Regions from separate parts of the Homo sapiens genome. Here region 1 is linked to region 2. The links are contacts of gene promoters, found by promoter capture Hi-C in blood cells and fetal thymus (Javierre and others, 2016). All regions are on one chromosome and are shown on one strand. The core of a region is centred on a gene start or on the middle of the fragment in contact, and the rest is flanking DNA. Distances in the headings are between cores, read along the strand shown. Region 1 has its middle 82 kb from the start of LINC02890. Region 2 holds the start of HS3ST2 (heparan sulfate-glucosamine 3-sulfotransferase 2).

Region 1 (6,722 bases), core at 2,972-5,471, 120 kb after region 2:
TAACCTCAGCACATGGAACACAGTGGGCACTCCATCATGGTTTGCAGTGGTTGTTAGTGTTTTAAATGAACAAAGCAACCATTGAAAGAATGAAGAAGTGATTTTGAGCATTTGGGCTGCCAGCAGCTATTCTACCTACCAGTTTTCCAAGTCAGAAATATTTAAAAGAGAAGAAGACTTTAGATTTTGTTTAAAAAAAAAAAAATCCCACCAGGTAGAAATTGGCTTTCGAAACAAAAAAGACTGGTCTTTTTGCATTGGGAAGGGTTTATACTTACATTATTGGTATTTTGGACAGTGGTTACCAAAAACCATAGAAAAAAGGCTAACAGAAATCTATAGCTATGGATCTTTTTTCATTTTTACTTTTTACCGAATCTGAGCTCAACTGATGCTCATTGCCAACAAGAATCTATGGTTTGGGGGGAATCTTTTATTTGTAATTATTTGGTCTCTGAAGTAGGTCATGTGATTTATGGGATAAGTTGATTAGGGAAATAACTGCATGAGCCCTGAAGAGAAGACCAAGTTTGTATCATTTGCCCTAGAAAGTAATGGAGATTAAGAGATAGGCTGGGCACAGTGGCTCATGCCTGTAATCCCAGCACTTTGGGAGGCCAAAGCGGGCCGATCACTTGAGGTCAAGAGTTCGAGACCAGCCTGACAAACATGGTGAAAACCTGTCCCTACTAAAAATACAAAAATTAGCCAGGAGTAGGGGTGGGCACCTGTAATCCCAGATACTTAGGAGGCTGAGGTAGGAGGATTCGCTTGAACCTGGGAGGTGGAGGAGGTTGCAGTGAGCTGAGATCGCACCATTGCGCTCCAGGCTGGGTGACAGAGCAAGACTCTGTCTCAAAAAAAAAAAAAAAAAAAAAAAAAAGAGAGAGAGACAGAGAGTGTGACTCCCTGTCTATAAAGCCCTATTTCTGGGCTGGAGATGCATCACCTCTACAACTGACCAAGACAAATAAATGTATTCTCCTTAAAGCCCCCAGAAGGAATGCAGCCCTACCCACCTGTCGGTTTCAGCCCGGTGAGACCCACTTCAGACTTCTACACACCTATTCATTTGTGTTGTTTCAAGTCACTAAATTTGTAGTAATTTGCTACAGCATCAACATGAAACCAATATAAGAAGCCAGATGCAGTGGCTCATGCCTATAATCCCAGCACTTTGGGAGGCCGAGGTGGGTGGATCACTTGAGGCCAGGAGTTCAAGACCAACCTGGCCAACATGGAAAAATCCCATCTCTACCAAAATACAAAAATTAGGCCAGGCACAGTGGCTCACACCTGCAATCTCAGCACTTTGGGAGGCAAGGCAGGAGGATCACTTGAGGTCAGGAGTTCGAGACCAGCTGGCCAACATGGTGAAACTCCATCTCTACTAAAAATACAAAAATTACCTGGGCATCATGGTGGGTGCCTGTAATCCCAGCTAGTCAGTAGGCTGAGGCAGGAAAATCACTTGAACCTGGGAGGCAGAGGTTGCAGTGAGCCGAGACCACACCACTGCTCTCCAGCCTGGGCAACAGAGCTAGACTCCATTAAAAAAAAAAATACAAAATACAAAAATTACCCAAGCATGGTGGCACACACCTGTAATCCCAGCTACTAGGGAGGCTGAGGTAGGAGAATTGCTTGAACCTGGGAGGTGGAGGTTGCAGTGAGCCAAGATCACGCCACTGCACTCCAGCCTGGGCAACACAGAGAAACTCTACTAAAAAGAGAGAGAGAGAAAAAAAAGAATTAGAAAGAAAAAGAAAGAAATCAATATAGAAAGTATAGGGGAGACAATAATCTGATTGGCATCACATTTTTAATTAACAACAAATATTAACTGGAAAACAATGGAGCAATATCTTCAAATCTGTGCAAGGCCATGGCAACAGATTTAAATATCAAAGGGAAATTGAAGAAAGTCTAACAAAATTAAAACTTAAGTAATTGACCAAAGAAGAAGAAAACCTAAACAGATCAATAACATGAACGATTGGAAAGGTCAAGATCTACCATTTTAAAAATCACCACACTTGCATAGATTTACATCCAAGTTTACCAAGCCTTAAAAAAAAGATAATTCTTCCTATATTATTAAAGTATCTTAGACTACAGAAAAAAATGAAACTCCCCAAGTTGACTATGACTTCGAAGAAGTTAGCAAAGCACTTTGCACAAAGCTCTTAGAACCATTCTGCCTTGTTCAAGTCATGGCTATAATACTTACTGGCTGTGTGACCTTGGGCAAGTTATTTATTCTCTTCCTTTCTCCACTCCCTTCTCTGTTAAATGACGAGGAAACTCTACTTCATGGAGATTGTTGTGAAGATTAAGTGAGTTTATAACTATCAACTGCTTAGAACAGTGTCTGGTGCCTATTAAGGCCCACATGCATACATATTTGATATTACTACTTTTATGAAATTAGAATCACCTTATTAGTTAAGCCTGATGAAGAAAGCACAAAAACAGAAAGCCACAGACAAATTCATTTATGAATACAGATACACATTTGTAAATAAATATTAGAAAATTAAGCTCATCAGTTCATCAAAAGAATAATACACTTATATTAGGAGCACAAGAATGGCTTAACATCATAGCTGGGCATCATGGTGGGCACCTGTAATTCCAGCTACTTGGGAGGCTGATGCAGGAGAATCTATCACTGTGATCCATTATATCTACCACTTAAAGTAGAAATTTCAGATGCTGTATGGTTGTAAGATAAACCTATAAAAATGAAGAGCTTTTCTATCAGTAATTATCACATAGTACTTTTTATTTTATTTATTTATTTTTTTGATACAGGATCTCGCTCTGTTGCCCAGGCTGTAGTGCAGTGGTGCAGTCACAGCTCACTGCATCCTCCATATCCTGGGCTCAAGCGATCCTCCCACCTCAGCCTCCTAAGTAGCTGGGACTTTGATACAGGATCTCGCTCTGTTGCCCAGGCTGTAGTGCAGTGGTGCAGTCACAGCTCACTGCATCCTCCATATCCTGGGCTCAAGCGATCCTCCCACCTCAGCCTCCTAAGTAGCTGGGACTACAGGCGTGCCACCGCATCCAGCTAATTTTTGCATTTTTCTTCGTAGAGACAAGGTTTCTCCATATTGCCCAGGCTGGTCTCAAACTCCTGGCTCCAGTAATCCTCCAGCGTCAGCCTCCCAAAGTGCTGGTATTATAGGAGTGAGCCACTGCGCCCAGCCCCACATAGTACTTTTAATAATTAAATAAACTTAGCAAAGTCAGTGTGGGCAATATGAGAAGGTCATGGAATGCTAGTCCAAGAAATCTGGTATTTATGAAATATATAGCAGGAAAAATTCAAGATGCCAAATAACATAAATAGGTCTATGTCTTTGGAGATGGATAGCAGTGAGGATTCTGAAGACAGAGAGACCCTTAGGAAATTATTGCAATAGTCCAGTCAAATGGTAGAGGAAAATTGAGCTGAGACAGAGGTCTTTCCAGAGGAATAATCGCTGGTACTGCTTTGGAGAAATAAACAGAATTTGTTAACTAAAGTCCAGACTGGGTAGACTGTTTTTACTACTAGGCTAAGGAACACGGGTGAAGAGAGTATTTCGGGAAAGATGACATTGAGTTGAGTCAAGCTGATTTTGAAGCACTCCCAGAACACCCACTGGTTAGAAAGGCAGATCAGAAGCTTCAAATAAAAGCAGGGACTAAAAAATTAACAGAGAGATTATTTAAGAAGCAACGATTCTGGAGCTACGAGAGGACATGAGGTCACCCAGGGAGAATGTGTAGCCTGCAAGGAAGGCTGAGACAGAACCTCAGAACATGCTGACATTTAAGGGATGGAATGAAAACAGCCGGTCAGTAAGAAGTTCTAGTGGTTGTTGGAGAGCCAAGAGCATGCAGAGCCCCATAAACTAGTGAAGAGATCCAAAAAGGATCACAAACCCAGCAGTTTGGAATGCCAAAGCAGGATCAAGGCGGAGGAGGAGCATTCAGCAAAGCAGCCTGCAGGTCCTTAGGAGAAACAAGTTCAGTGAAATGGGCATCTTGCAGCCCATTAAGCAGAGATAGAAAGTAGGTGGACTAAAGAATCCAAACGGCTTTTCAGTAAAAGTGGGTAAGAGCTTCAATTTGGGGATCAGGTTAACATGGATTCACATCTCAGCTCTACTGTTGGACATTTGTCAATCATTCCATATCTCTGAGCCTAACTTTCCTTATATGTAAAATAGGATAGTCCCAGTACTATCTTCGTAGGAGTTATTGTGACAATGGAGATAATCCATTAAAGGGGCTTAGATTGGCATCTAACATAGTTAAGAGGTCAGTAAACTTGGGGGTATTTGCGGGGCACAGTGGCTCATGCCTGTAATCCCAGCACTTTGGGAGGCCAAGGCTGGTGGATCACTTAAGGTCGGGAGTTCAAGACCAGCCTGGGCAACATGGTGAAACCCCATCTCTACTAAAAATACAAAAATTAGCCAGGCATGGTGGCGCAAATCTGTAATCCCAGCTACTCAGGAGGCTGAGCCAGGAGAATCGTTTGAACCCAGGAGGCAGAGGTTGCAGTGAGCCAAGATCGTGCCACTGCACTTCAGCCTGGGAGACAGAGTAAGAGTCCGTCTCATAAAAACAAAATGAAACAAAACAAAACTTGGGGGTATTATTGTTATTTCAATAAAATAGATGATGATCCCATCTGCTGAGAAAGGGATGAAAGCAGGTGGAAAGGGAGGAACAGCTGCTTACGTGTGTTTAAATAGACTACTTCCCAAAGCTTTTTTTTTTTTTAAATAAAAAATGACCAGACAGCTGAGATGAACTTGAAATAGACCTGGCCATCCAACCCAGCCAGACCACTCTTCCCAGAATCACTCACTGACTGAGCACTGGAGTGGTGGGAGCGGAAGAAATAAATTGTTGGGAGAATTGTTGGCTTGAAGAATGGCAAGGGTTAAAATGATCTGGTGTGGGAAAAGGACAGGATTTGAGCACAATAGGGAGAGCTCACTTAGACTTGGAGGCCGGGGCAGAGTTGTAGGAGTCATACCAGGGAAAGATCAAGCTAATTTATAGGAAGGAAAAAATCTAGAAATGAGGAACTTGAGTCGGAGGGGGTGATTCAGAGAACTGAGCATATAACCAGTCATGCTTCTTCCATTTTTTCGTATGGTCACTCTCTTACCTAGATACCTATGATACATTCAATAATCATTACTTTGGCCAGACACGGTGGCTCACACCTGTAATCCCAACTCTTAGGGAGCCCAAGGCAGGAGGATTCCTTGAGCCCAGGAGTTCAAGATCAGCCTGGGCAACATGGTGAGACCCTCTCTTTACAAAAATTTTAAAAATTACCCAAGCATGGTGGCATTCACGTGTGGTCCCAGCTACTCAGGAGGCCACTTAAGTCCAGAAGGTCCAGGCTGCAGTGAGTCATGTTCATGGCACTGCACCCCAGCCTGGGTGACAGAGAGAGAACCTATCTCAAAAAAAAAAAATCATCATCATCATTTCTTAAAACAACATTAATCATAGGTCACCTTTTTAGAGGCAAGCAGGCATTCTGTTAAACACAGTCCCCATATCAATTCTATGGGTCAAGAAGCCCTTGATGCCCATTACAGGTAAGTAAACTTTCACAGAGTGACAGGACTAAGATTTGAACCTGGGCAATCTGAATCCCAAGGCTGAGTAACCACAGCACATAACTATAAGCAGGGCATTTCGGTACGCAGCTTCTTGGATGACCTCAATACTCCCTGCCTCCTGGTAGCCCCACTCTTGTGTAATTCCCTCCCCGCTTGTGTGTGGGCTTTATTTAGTGGCCGACTTCTAGCAAGCAGAATGCAGAAGAGGAGAGATGTCACTTCTGGAATTAGATTACAAAGAGATGGCATCTTCCGTCTGGAGCACTCTCTCACTCTCACTCCAAGGGAAGCCAGCTGCCATGTTGTGAGCTGTCCAAGGATCCCAGTGACAAAGAACTGAGGAAGTCCTCTGGCCAGCAGTCAGCAAGAAACCGAGACCCTAGACCCTTAGCTCCAACAGCCTACAAATAACTGAAACCTTCCAAAAACCATGGGAGGGAGCCTAGAAGCAGATTCTCCCCAGCTGAGACTTCACATGAGACCACAGCTCCAGCATGTACTCTGACTGCAACCTGGTAAGAGACTTTGAGGTCTGACTGCAACCTGGTAAGCAACCTCAAGCCAGAGATACACAGGAAAGCCATGCCCAAATTCCTAACCCACAGAAACTGAGACAATAAATGTTTGCTGTTTCAAGCTGCTAAGTTGTGGAGTGATTGGTTATGCTGCAATAGTTAGTGAGTGCATCTACTCTGTGCCTAACACTTCCTAGATGTTAGGAATAAGACTTGGTCCCTGACGTCTGAGCATTTATAGGGGAAACAATGATATAAACAAATGATTCCAGCACAACATGGCCCAGGGTGGAGAATTGCACTAGTGGGCAACTGTAATGGAGGGAAACCAGAAAATATTCACAGAGGAGGTGAAATTTGGTTTGCATCTTGAAGGATGAATCAAAGCTAGCTAGACGGATGAAGGGGAATGGATAGTCAAAGCAAAGAGAACAGATACATGCCAAAGTACAGAAGATGAAACAGCAATTAAATATTTGTGGTTGAGTGTAGCTGACAGTAGAGACAACCAAGTAATGGAAAATCTTGCATGCTTTGCAAAAACCTCTGAACTTTCAAAAGACTGTCA
Region 2 (7,193 bases), core at 2,502-5,001:
CATTTACCCACAGAAAGAAGCCCCTCCTTTGGGTTAAGGGTAAAGCTTTTGATTTTTCCACTATCTGGATTTCAGCCTCCTGATCAGGAAGTTATCACCAGGGGCTTTGATGTGGGCAGATCATACTAAGATCCACACTGCCTGCAACTCTGCACCTCCCCCTTTGGAAAGCACAGTCCACTCCAATGGGTGCAAGGGTTCTTTGGCTATGTCTGCCCAGTGGACCCTGGCTTTATGATGGCAAGCTGTGAACTGACAAGGCAGTGGACAGAGAGCGGAACATCCTGTCACCCACCGTACCTAGCTCATGGGATTCAGGAAGAAAGTAAGAACATGGGTTTTAAAAGATTCCAGAAATCCCCATGATTTCTGCAGTTAATGTGTATGACTTGGTCATAATAAAAAGAAATGTACAAAAATGTTCTTTACATACAGAAAGATGTTCTGGAGGTTATGGAAACAGCATCTAAGTGGGGTAGTATTACCCTGCACAGAAATGGCAATCCACAAGCTAAACACTTGACTCTAGGGGTGTGGATTTGTAACTGAAAGAAGCACAAACCACACAGCCTTTTCCTGACACTGGAGCCTCCCAGCCTTCCTGGTCAAGCAATGGGGAGAGGGCAATTACGACCAGACCTCTAGGATAGTCTTTTAGAAATATAAAGTGGGGAAAGGTGGTAGAGGGGGAGAGAAGAGAGAAGCAGAGCTGTCAGCATGCTTGATGTTAAATAAAACCTACCAAGACTCAGCTGAGAATTTTAGCAGAATCCAAATGTGCTAAAAAAAAATAAATAAATAAAAAATAAGACATGGCTTCCCTCTCTAAGGTTCACAGCTAAGCTTGCTTAGAATCACACATGCCAAGGTTAAAAATAAAAAGCAGCCATCCCTGAATGACATGGGCTCCAGGATGGAAGCCTGAGGTATGCTGTTTAGTGGTGGAAGGAAGAGAGGGGAGGGAGGAGAGTCTGGGTTCAGGGCATAGGTATTTATTGGAGGGCACACTATCTGAAAGCCAGATGCTCAGAATTTTGCTGTTTTGCACTTAAAAGGCACTTCGCATTGGCAAAAGGTGTCATAATGATCTTCAGATTTTCCATCGAGGAAATGCTGGCCTGCATTCGAATGTGGTCATGGCTGACCCACTCTGGGCTCTGCTGTTCAATGTGTTTGCCTCCTCCATCCCGGGATCTGACTCAGACAGTGTCCACATGCACCTAGACGGGATGCCCATGAGTCACAGCTTGGAAAGCACAGTGGGCTATTGGCATTGGCATGAAGCCAGATCTGCCACTCTGTGCCACCCTACCCTATTAACCAGACATAATGGTGCTGGGGCCACCCACAGGCTAGCTAGCCCCTGGTTGGCTGCAATGGGGACAGACTATGTGTCTGCCTGCTAAGGATGATGCATGACCCACTCGTCCCCACAACTACAACCATTGCGAGCCAGGAGTAACCTGCAAAGGTGCTAAATCAGGCCTGCGGTCCCCCTACTTTTGGTAAATCCAGGGCCCTCTATTATAAGCCCAGTGGGGTCCTCTTTCTAACAAAGTTGTCCCTTGTCCAATATGCATATGACCTCTACTGCCTAAAGCTGTAGATAAAAACAGCAGATTTAGCCTCAGCTACTCTGTCAGCTACCATGTTACCCCTCCCCAACGTCATTACTATGCAGATGTTTCTAGAAAGTCTTCAAAGGGTCAGGTGAATTGTGAGAATTCTGTGACCTATGTGTTAACAGGGAGCCGGGACATTACACCACCCACATGTGGGCCAGTCCTACACTTCAGCACCATACAGGGCTAGGGAGGCAGAAAGGCATTGAGGCGTGGACGCTGCCACCTCACAGAAGCTTTGGTCTGTGCCTTGACTCCCCCAGTGGGGATAATTCTCCTCCCTGGCATGCATGGGAAGCATAGACAGTCTATGCATGACTGGCTGCCCCTAGCACCCTTGCTAGCCTTCACCCGCAGGGCCCACCTTCAAATTCCACATTTTGGCTGCTGGTTTAGAAGCATCACTTAAAGTGAAGTGCCTTTTTTACACCTTTAAGGCACTTCAGAAAAGCCTTGGAAGGTATACAGGGCAAGGGCTGTTTTCCTGCCCATTGGGATGGATGAGAAAATAGAGGCTGATAGAGTTTAAGAAACTTGCTCAAGCTTAAGTGACAGACCCAAGACTCGAATCCAGGGCTCTTTCCACTACTCAAAGACCACCTACCAGGGCCAGAGCTACTGGGGGTCTCAGCCCCAGTACAGCAGCAAATACCTGGGTTTGAGATTGAGACTCCCTAAGGCATCTTTCTTACTGGAGACCTCTGGCGATGCACTGTCATTTGGCCTGAACTCTGGGGACCTTTCCCAAACAGAGCCTTGCTGCAAGGGGTCTCTGAACTGCCTTATCTTTCTCAGGGTCCTTCAGGGGCTGGGTACCAGCAAAGACCTACAGAGGGTTAGGATGGTGCCGTGTTCAGGCAGCACAGGTCCTCGCCTGTCCCTTCCTTGGGCACCCTAAGGGCTGGTCACAGAGGGAGTTAGCCCTTTAGCTGGCACTTAGGTTTGACTGGAGATAATCCTTTTCCAACGACTCCAGTGACGAGGGAACGCCCTTTGCAGTTCCAGAAACTGCCCGTCTAGATTATCACTGGGAAGTTCTGGGTAAATTCTGCTATAGCCCCCCATGGCCCTGTGTGTCAGCCTGAACCCATACAATGAGTTGGGTTAAAAGAAAGAGAAAACACAAGAGACGGATGGCTCTCCCAATGGAAGCGATCAGAGACCCGGCGCACGGAGCGGAGCTCCTGGTCCTTACCTGTACCAATCCAGCCCGCGGCCGTAGTTCCTGTCAAAGAAGTGGGGTTCCGTGCCCAAGGCCCGCACGTCCGGGTGTACTCGGATAAACTCCAGCACGGCCCGGGTGCCCCCCTTCTTCACGCCCACAATGAGGGCTTGGGGCAACCGCTTGGTACCCAGCTTGGGTGAGCCGGAGTGGTTGGAACCGGAGAGGCGAGGGGCGGGCACGGCGGCGGCGGGCGCGCTGGGAGCGCTGGGCTCGCTGGGCGTCGGCCCGGAGGGATCACAGGGGCGGGACTTCTGGAGAAGTTTCTGGCCGCCCGCGCTGGGGCCGCGGAGGCAGCGAGGCGCGCCGAGGAGGCGGCTCCGACCCAGGTCGTCGCAGCAGCACAGGAAGCTGTAACACAGGTAAGTGCAGGAGAGCGAGAGCGTGAAGGCGAAGAGCAGCCTGCGCGCCCTCCGCGGCTGAGGTGGCCCCGCGCGGCCCAGGACCCTATAGGCCATGGCTCCATGGGCCCGCGCCGGGGGTCATGGTTTCCGAGGGGGCACCGGCGGCTGAGCTGCTGTGGCCCTGCGGTCGCCTAGAGGGCTCGCGTGGCGCTGCCACGGCCACGCGGGTCGGGCGTTGGGGGCGCCGTCTTCTCCGGGGGCTGCTGACCAGGGTGCGCACAGTGCCAGGGGGTCCCGGGGGCAGCGGCTCCTCGGGGAACAGGCGGTTGCATTTCCAGCATCTCCCGGTCCTAGGCGATGGGGCTCCGGGCAGCCGGGCGGCTCGGGCGCTCCCAGGCTCTTACGTGCGCCGGGTTCGGAGCGCGCCCAGCGCCCGAAGCCCCATTCCTGATCCTCGGAGCGCCGCTCACGAAACGCTCGGCGGCGGCGCGGCTGTGCGGGCTGGCGGGTGGACCGGACGGTGGCGCTGGCGCCGGCCGCGATCTGGCTCTTCGGGAAATGCCGAGCGGAGCGCGCTGCCGGCTCTATTTAAGGAGTGGCCTGACGTCAGCCGCGCGGGTCCCCCGAGCCCGCGCCGCGCCCAGGGACCTGGCCCGCCCCCTGCGCCCCCACTCTCTTACCCCTCCCAGAAACACAGCACGCGGGCCCTCCCCATGCAGGCCACTCCCTACGGAGCCCCAGGCCAGCTTTGGGGCGGTGAAACGAAGGTGTCAAGGCATAGTACTCCTCCGGGAGGCTGGACACCCCCACCACGCTGGCCTCTCGACATCCAGGGACACGAATCCAGGTCGAGATCGCGCCGACATGCAGACCAGACAGACCCAGACGCAGACGCAGGCACCCTGCCCTGATGCGCGGTCCCACCACCCTGACCCGCACACGCACGCACAGGCACAGAAGCACACGCGCCCTAGCCCGGACACACCCCCACACCCACGCGGGGGTGGGGAGGAGAAGTCCCCTAACCTGGGCCCAGATACACCGACAAGGACACTCCCCCCGCTCTCGACATCTCGCCAAATGGACACACACAGCCCGGAATCGGACACCGAGCGCACGCACGCCCTGGACTGGGACACGCGCTGTAGACGGGATGGGTGGAGGAGCCGAGCGTGAGTGAGATTCCGTGACTATTCACCCAGCTTCTTAGCCCCCAGCGCGCTGACTCACACCCCGGCGGCTCGCTCTGTCTCGCACCTATGAGGCACGCGCGCACCCCAACCCATTGTCACCCCACCTCTCCCCGGGCCTGCCGGAGAGCGAGCCCCGGAGCGGCAGACTCCGCGTCAGGAGGGTTCCTCTCTTAGCAGCCGCCGCCTAGCGGTAGACTGCTCCCCGGGGAGCTGTCCAGGGTACCAGAGGGTCGCCGAGGGCTGAGTGAGGAGGGCTTCTTCACACAGAGACACTAGGAGGAGGAAACAGAGTACAAGGAGAACGTATCCAGGAGCAATTCCACTTCGAATGATTCCTAAGTGAATGCCTACAGGACAGTTCTCGGTGACCATGTCCAGAACAGGCATAAGTGACGATCCCCAGTACTTCCCTGAGGGACCACACTGGTACCTTGGATCAGAACCCTGCATCAGAACAGGCCTAAATGGCCATGGCTAAGAACACGGCTGAGTTGTCCTTCAACAGCAATGCCAATGCCAATTCACCATGTCCGAGTGTTCACAAGGTGAGTGCCCTCCACCACCACCCAGCCATAGAATGTCTAGATGACCACCATGACCCCCACCCTGATCAGGGTATAACTGACTTCCTTCCTCAGGCTGTAAACTGATCATTAGGTTCTGTGGATCTTAGCCCAAACCAGAAAATATTTTGTCCCCAAACTAGTCCCATCCCTAGAAACCTTAAACCAATTCTACGGCAGATAATAATAATAGCTGCCAACTTTGTATCAAGCACCTGGCATGGGTTAACTGATTAAATATTCACAACCTATGAAGTTGTTACCATTACCCTGGCATCACTTTGCTGTCTTAATTCTAATAGTAGCTAGCATTTATTGAGTGCTTGTTTTATGGGAGTTATGCGCTAATCACTTGACATGCACTACCTCATTTATCTTTGGAGATAGGTATTATTGTAATTTCTAATCTACAGGCAGTGATAAGAAGATTTAACAAACATATACACAGTAACTGGCAGAGCTGGGATTAAACCCGGGCAGTCTTGACTCCAAGATTCAAGCTCTTAGTTACAGCACTTTGCAGCTTCCTAACTTCCTTTGACCATTATTCATATAATTCCATCCTAGGCTCCTCTCCTGGATGTAAGCTAATTTGTCTATGTCTCTTCTAAAATCTCACACCTGGGACTGCGCGAGGAATTTCAGATATGGATTGAAAAGTTCAACAGGACTCTCACCTCTCTTTTGTAAGTTCTATTTCTAGTAATGCCACCTAAGACTCCATTATCTTTTTCTTGTGGCTATATCACACTGCTGACATCTCAAACTTGCAGCCAAGTAACATCTCTAAATGTTTCTTACAAGTGCTGCTGATTAAGGCACAGCTACCCCATACTGTGCTTGTACAGTGGGCCTTTTTGGACCCAATGTGTAGGTCCTTATAGATTTGACTTGATTGCATTTCATCTTGTCTCATCAGTTCGCTGCCCTAGTTTTTTTTAAATGTCTATTTGAAGTCAAACCACGAGGTAGCTTTCATTTATTCAAAAAGAAAAAGTAGAAAGATTGTATCCCAGCTTTACCCTTTATTCCAGGTGTACTTTGGGCAAGTGGACCCCCTTTAAGCCTCAGGTTCCTCAGCTGTAAAATGGGACGCTATGATTCACCTTAAAAGTCTCTCAAAGTTTAGATGTTGCATGATTCTATGATTCCATTACCCAAAGCATGAACCACTCACTTGGCATCATGTAATTTCCACAGTTGATCACAATTTAATTAATTCCTCATTCTAATTGTTAATAAAAATGTCAAAACAAATATACTTAAAGGAGTTCTTCTTCTTCTTTTGGGTGAGGGGAAGTGTCTCACTCTGTTGACCATGCTGGCATGCAGTAGTGCAATCATAGCTCATGCTGCAGCCTCCACTTCCTGGGCTCAAGGGATCCTCCTGCCTCAGCCTCCTGAGTAGCTAGGACTACAGGCATGTGCCACCACACCTAGCTAGTTTTTTAATTTTTTGTAGAGATGAAGTCTTACTGTGTTGCCCAAGCTGGTCTTGAACTCCTGAGCTCAAGTGATCCTCCTGCCTCAGCTTCCCAAAGTGCTAGAATTACAGACATGAGCCACAATGCCTGGCCTGGAAGGAGCTCTTATATATACTTTGAACAATTATTCACATCATGAACCTGCTATTTTTGTATTCCATTGTTAAAATTACAAGGTTAAATGTGGAGTCATCTGCTGTGATCAGTACTATTTCCCTTAGAAAATAAAACATGAATATAATGATTTCTCATAATTCTGTGCTTGGCTTAATTTTTAAATAATTTTTAACCTTTGAATTCATAAACTGTGATATCCCTGGGTACTCACATATATCAAAACCAGGAAGATTTTCCTCTTCAAATTTCCAATCAGAGTAATGACTGACTTGGATAGAATTTTTTAGGAAGTGAGACATTGGACATACCTGCCCATCTCCTAAACCTTTATCTGTTTACAGTAGCAAACGTGATTCTGCTTTGGGGGTATCAGGTAGGATTATGCTGGGTTGTGTAGTTTGTCAATTAACACCCACTTAAGCAAGGTATATGTTTATTTTTGTAATCACATGAAAGTCCAGATGAAGGTACTTTAGGGCTTGTATGGAAGCTCCAAAGTGTTTGGGACCCAGGCTCCCTCTATCTTGTTACTCTACCATGCATTTCCTCCATTCTAAAGTCACCACATAGTCTACAATGACTTATTCATCTGCAGCCAGAATGTTCACATTCTGGTCATTAGTAAATATGTAAAGACATGCCATATCT

Evidence for each region. The method cuts DNA at HindIII sites, captures the fragments that hold promoters and counts their contacts. A CHiCAGO score of 5 or more calls a contact.
Region 1: a fragment that was not itself captured here is called in contact with the fragment with the promoter of HS3ST2 in region 2 in 1 of 17 cell types (M0 macrophages); the score reaches 6.5 in M0 macrophages.

What each region holds. Positions count from the first base shown.
Region 1 is chr16:22,692,180-22,698,901 of GRCh38, reverse strand. No RefSeq gene overlaps it. Among named protein-coding and RNA genes, the nearest start is that of LINC02890, 82 kb to the right of the region's middle. The HindIII fragment of the contact is 1,092 bases long and covers 3,676-4,767 here.
Region 2 is chr16:22,810,720-22,817,912 of GRCh38, reverse strand. It overlaps HS3ST2 (heparan sulfate-glucosamine 3-sulfotransferase 2), which reads right to left and starts at 3,751. Exons shown (of 2, transcript NM_006043.2): 1 at 2,818-3,751. The coding sequence starts at 3,302. It overlaps LOC107984851 (collagen alpha-1(XVI) chain), which reads left to right and starts at 3,054. Exons shown (of 4, transcript XR_001752349.2): 1 at 3,054-3,206; 2 at 4,649-4,926; 3 at 5,512-5,630. The HindIII fragment of the contact is 5,471 bases long and covers 2,168-7,193 here.